Regions from separate parts of the Homo sapiens genome. Here region 1 is linked to region 2. Evidence: promoter capture Hi-C in 16 types of primary human blood cells and fetal thymus (Javierre and others, 2016). All regions are on one chromosome and are shown on one strand. The core of a region is centred on a gene start or on the middle of the fragment in contact, and the rest is flanking DNA. Distances in the headings are between cores, read along the strand shown. Region 1 overlaps NKTR (natural killer cell triggering receptor). Region 2 holds the start of CCDC13 (coiled-coil domain containing 13).

Region 1 (2,765 bases), core at 119-2,618, 140 kb after region 2:
GAGCTGCTGCTATGCTTTTTATGTGAAACGCTATTTTTTTTCCCACTGGATCTAAGTCTCCTCTTAGCTCGCCTTCCATCATCACTGCTAATAGAAGTATATGAAGATGATCTACTACACTGTGAATGATCACTGTATTTATTTCGTGAATGAGATCTAGATGATGGAGACCTAGACCTTGAATGTGAACTAGCTAGACTACGTGATCTTGTATATGATCTGGAATAAGATCTACTCCTAGAAGATCTGCTCCTTGACCTTGGTGAGCTTTCTGAACTTCTATCACTGTATTTTGAATAAGTGCTCTGATCACTTTCCGAATTTTTTTCTCTTTTATGGTAGGATGATGAGCTACCAGTCTCTTTAATATTTGCTAAACTGTAAGTGCTTTGGATGGGTAGCAAATGGGTTGTTTTAGCTTTCATTTCCTGAATTCGCTCATAAGAGGGCTTCCAAGGTTTCTGTCCAGGCTTCCATCTTGAAGGGGGGGGACTGTCACTCAGTGGTATTACAGGAATATTTTCTGCTACAACTGGTTGTACTACTACATTTTCATTTTGTGCCATGGTTGCTCTTAAAGGTTCTGTTTTAACTGGTTTATTTTCACTTAACTGAGAAGCTGTTTTTCTTGGTGATTTTGATGCTCTCTTTCGGTGCCCAGACTTGGAACTAGATCTGGACTTTGATCTACTTCGAGAATGTGATGAGGACTTTGACGCAGTCCTTGATCTTGAGCTTCCTCTAGAATAAGACTGTGAGTGAGATTTTGATCTGTATGAGTCTCTGCTGGAATGGGTTAAAGAGCTCTGGACATCCTTATCAGATTTAGACCAGTCTCTCTTTGATGAGTGATGAGATGACAATGAGGAAGAACGAGAACTCCTTTCTCTATCACAAGAGGATTTCATTCTTCGAGTGGAAGATTTTGAGGATTCTATGTCAGACGGTATAAGAATCCTTCTCTTCTTTGTTTGTTTGTGTCTTCTGCAGTGTTTCTGCTTTTTCCCTTTCTTTTTATGCTTAACCTTTTTTTCTTTTCTGCGTTTTTTATGGTGGCCAGAGTGTCTTGCTGTACTAAGGTCTGAATAATATCCATTATAGGACCATGATCTGGATCTCTGAGACAAGCTTCTTTCATCCCATCGGCTTGAACAGGGGTCACTTAACCTATAGAAAGGACATAATATTCATGCGGTGATTTATAAGCATGTTTTCTACACCTTAAGACACAGCTTTGTTAACAACAAAGTTCTTGACCCCATTAACACTTTAAGCACACGCAGGAAGCGTGAATCAGAGTTATAGGCCTGGTCTTGTTATACTTTCAGAGACACACACTAAGAACTACTAACAAATTCACTTACAAAAGGATTTTTTTTTTAAGCTAAGCAAAGAACCTTACATTTGTTAGGAAAATGTTTTTGAAAAGCAAACCAACTAATCACAAGAACACTGCTGAACTCAAATCACAAGAGTTCCTGGCTGTTATCTGCTCACAACCCTCTGCCTCTAGGACAGTTTTTGAGGGTGAGTCAAACCAAGGTCTCAAACAATTTGTTGATTTTCTGAAGATGCAGGATAGCTGCTTGAAACTAGCATGAAGCTTGTTTTTTCTCCACCTCAGACAGGTAATCCAGATTTCCCCTAAGACTGTAAACTACTTAAAACAGAAATTGAGGAAAAAGTACACAAAAACAGATACAGGTTACAATCTGAGTGTTAATGTCAAGGCTCAGAACTGAAAGTCCTCAGCACCACTGTGTCTGAGCCGCTTCTACACAGCAGATGCATTCCTTTTCCTCCTTTTCACAATTCCAAACCACTCTGCAGGATGTCCCCAGAGAAAAAGAGAATACTACCATGGAAGATTACACAGGGTCCCATTAGTATATTTTTCACTAGCTATTCTGGGGCCTATCCCCTTCCTAAAATAAATATTCAACTGTGGGACATCACTGAAGGTAAGAGATGTGTACACTTCTAAAAAAGCAAGTCTCTGCGATCAACAGTCAACATGAACACCGAGTGCAGGTTTTCCTATTTACCAATGAACTCATCAGTGACCTGGCTGGCTAGGAAAGAATCTGCTATATAATTTCTAAGTCCTAATTATTTTTTTTTTTTTTTGAGACGGAGTCTCGCTCTGTCACCCAGGCTGGAGTGCAGTGGCACGATCTCAGCTCACTGCAAGCTCCACCTCCCGGGTTCACACCATTCTCCTGCCTCAGCCTCTCTAAGTAGCTGGGACTACAGGCACCCGCCACCACGCCCGGCTAATTTTTTGTATTTTTAGTAGAGATGGGGTTTCACTGTGGTCCCAATCTCCTGACCTCGTGATCCGCCTGCCTCGGCCTCCCAAAGTGCTGGGATGACAAGCGTGAGCCACCACGCCCGGCCTCTAAGTCCTAATTATTTCTAAAATTGACTAAGAGGTCATTAAAAGACACAGGCTTATAGTTTTTGTTAAGGAAAACAGGATTTTGATTTAAAAGCCCAACTAGTTAACAGTACTACTTTCATCAAGTAGTCCCAAATGTATTTCCTTTGGTCACAGTCTGACTGTGAATCTTTCACTGAATCTTTAATGAAAAGTCCAGAATTGTATCCAATCCCTTTAACATTTAAAATATAACAGACACAGGATTGTGCTTATACTCAAAGTTCTTACTTATCTCCTTTACTCCATTTTTCTCCACTAGGTGGTCTATATGCTCTTAATCTCTGCATTTCCTCTTTCCAGTGAGGAGGAGTTTCACTGCTGTCAT
Region 2 (3,035 bases), core at 112-2,611:
CTTTTCCTATGCCACATAGTCCCATCGTGGTCATGAGGCAAACGAATGATACTCCCCACTACACACACCATTTAAAAAAAACCCTAATCCTTTGAGGCTCACATCTACCTGAATCCTACTCTTTATCCTGTCTCTCTTTGCTGCCACCTGTATATTATACGTCTCCCACCCTCAGCTCACCAGGCAGCAATTGGAGACCAACGGGAAAGATCCATTTTTCCTTTATCAGGAAACTTCGGGTTTATACCTGCAGTGCTGATGGCAGTCTAGTGCCGTATCTTATGTATGCATGTCTATGGGATGGGTATTCATTCACCTTATGAGGAAAAAAAATAGAAAAACAACTGCCAAGGTTTTCAAATTATGAAGTCCTGGATAAATATTTGGGCAGGAGCTGTGGCTCACGCCTGTAATCCCGGCACTTTAGGAGGCCAAGGTGGGCGGATCACCTGAGGTCAGGAGTTCAAGACCAGCCTGGTCAACATGGTGAAACCCCGTCTCCACTAAAAATAAAAAAATTAGCCAGGTGTGGTGGCGGGTGCCTGTAATCCCAGCTACTCAGGAGGCTGAGGCAGGAGAATCGCTTGAACCTGGGAAATGGAGGTTGCAATGAGCTGAGATCGCACCACTGCACTCCAGCCTGGGCGACACAGCGAGACTCTATCATAGATAGATAGATAGATTAGATAGATAGATAGATAGAAAGAAATCTCCCTTGAATCATCTTTCCTAGAAATTTGCCTCCCACCCCCATATTGCCCTGAAATATAGTAGTGTCTTACATTGGAAGGTGCCATTTAAAAAAAAAAAAACAAGTATTTTCCTTTATGAAAATAAACGATGTTCATTATTTTAAAAATTCTCTAAAGTGTAAAAATAAAAACACAGCACTGCTATTCCACCACCCAAATATAACCACTTTTAATATTTCTATTTCGGTCTTGTTTTAGTGCCTAGTTTGAAATAAACACAACTTTATTTATTTAGCATTGCTATATTGCGTCCTGCTTCCTTCACTCACCATCATAACATGGCCTTTCCCCACACTGTTTTACATTTTTCAAATATATCTGAATGGCTACTTTAAATTTCATGGTGAGATCGTTCGCTTTTTAACTCCCCAACAGGAGAGCGGAATGGGCATCTCTGTGCAGAACGTTTGGTCCACAAAACTTTTTTAAAAATATACTCCAGAAGATTTAAAATCTCCAGCGCACTCGAGATCGTGCTCGCTTGGATCCAGCCCAGCGCGCCATCAGCGCCTCTGTCACTTTCAGAACTCTTGGCGCCCCCTCGGCCCCCGTAGAGTAGCGTTGAAAACGCGCAAGTGACGTCGCTTGTTTCCCTGGTGACGGTTGCCAGGGCAGCGCGTGTCGGCGTCCGGAGGAGGTGACCTAGCCGCCGCGGTCCTAGAAGGGAGAAGTGGAGAGAGACCGCTGTAAGTGCCGGGGAGAGCGGAAGGGCCCGGGCCGGAGCTGGGAAAGCCCGCAGCTGCCGGGGGCGCGGAACCGAGCCCGAGCGCAACCCCAGCCCGAGCGCGCTGCCACTGGCCGGGCGCTCACCGCGTGCTGGGCGCCCAGCGAGGACTCTTCCCCTTCGTCCTTTGAATCTTCACACACAGCCCTCTTCTAACCCAGGCAGACGCTTATTTTCCATGCAGTACATGGGTTAATGAGGCGCAGAGGGTGGGTCGCCTGCCCCAAAGTCATAGCGTAGATGGCACAGTCAGAACTCGAACTCAGGTCCGCCTGACAAGCGCTGTTTGCTGGGCCTCTGCCACTGGGCCCTCTCGCACCGCACTGAAAGATGCGACCCGACGGCGTGCACTTCCGCATCTCCCAGTTCCCCTTCCAGGCCCAGCCCCCACAGGACTGGGGACTCGCAAGAGGGAGTTCCCCTCCAAGCCCGGAGTCCAGCCCTGAGAACCAGAGCATCACCCCGCTCCCATCCCAAACCCATCCCTACGAAGATGCTAGCAGTGCACAGAGCGCCAAACTAGGCATCCGTGGGCGGCCTCCCCACACCTCCAGGCCCCTAGACTGTTGTTGAGAATACTCGAAAAGAACACAGTAAAAGAAAAGAAGAAAGAGAAGGAGAGGGGAAGAGAAAAACAATGAAAAAAGTGGCAGGCCGATGGGGCAAGGGGTCTCAATCCTTCCTCACTGGTCCCTGTCACCTATGGTCCCATATCCTGTGGGATCTTGCTTCCTCATAGGACTCCAGAGTGCATGCCACTCTTCCTACTCCCTGGCTCTAAGTCCTACCTGAGCCAAGAGTTCTTTCCATGCAGCTCTAGCCTTTACTTTATTTTTTTTATTATTACTTTTTTTTTTTTTTTTTTTTTTTGACGGAGTCTCGCTCTATCGCCCAGGCTGGAGTGCAGTAGCGCGATCTTGGCTCATTGCAACCTCTGCCTCCCAGGTTCAAGCGATTCTCCTGCCTTGGGCTCGAGTAGCTGGGATTACAGGCGCCCGCCACCATGCCTGGCTAATTTTGGTATTTTTAGTAGAGATGGGGTTTCACCATGTTGGCCAGGCTGGTCTCAAACTCCTGACCTCAGGTGATCCACCCACCTCAGCCTCCCAAAGTTTTGGGATTACACGCATGAGCCACCACGCCCGGCTTAGCCTTTACTTTTAAAAGAAAATAGACTTAAAGCAGATTTTTAGAAGCATTAAACAAAAAACAGTTCCTTTATGTATTCCGTATTCCCATTTCCTCTGTTGTTAACATCTTACACATTGCATTGGTGTGGTACATTTGTTATCATTGATACAACTATACTGGTATGTTATTACTAACTAAAGTCCATAGTTTACATTAGAGTTCATCTGTTGTTGTTGTTGCTGCTGCTGTATTGAGACAGGGTCTCACTTTGTCACCCAGGCTGGAGTGCGGTGGCATGATCATGGCTCACAGTAGCCTCCAACCCCTGGGCTCAAGCAATCCTCCCACCTCAGCCTCCTGAGTAACTGGGAACACAGGCACATGCCACCATGCCCAGCTAATTTTTTTATTTTTTGTAAAGCTATGGT

The links. Contacts are between HindIII fragments. The CHiCAGO score rates a contact against its expected background, and 5 or more counts as called.
Region 1: a contact is called between a fragment that was not itself captured here and the fragment with the promoter of CCDC13 in region 2, in 1 of 17 cell types (M2 macrophages). The highest score is 7.2, in M2 macrophages.

The regions. Positions count from the first base shown.
Region 1 is chr3:42,635,270-42,638,034 of GRCh38, reverse strand. It overlaps NKTR (natural killer cell triggering receptor), which reads right to left. Exons shown (of 17, transcript NM_005385.4): 12 at 2,669-2,765; 13 at 1-1,167. The region is part of intron 1 of ZBTB47-AS1 (ZBTB47 and NKTR antisense RNA 1); the gene reads left to right. Among named protein-coding and RNA genes, the nearest start is that of ZBTB47, 17 kb to the left of the region's middle. The HindIII fragment of the contact is 475 bases long and covers 1,131-1,605 here.
Region 2 is chr3:42,771,579-42,774,613 of GRCh38, reverse strand. CCDC13 (coiled-coil domain containing 13) reads left to right here and starts at 1,361. Exons shown (of 16, transcript NM_144719.4): 1 at 1,361-1,438. It overlaps CCDC13-AS2 (CCDC13 antisense RNA 2), which reads right to left. Exons shown (of 2, transcript NR_122070.1): 2 at 979-1,409. RefSeq lists an enhancer at 1,181-1,350 and a silencer at 1,481-1,640. The HindIII fragment of the contact is 4,325 bases long and covers 1-3,035 here.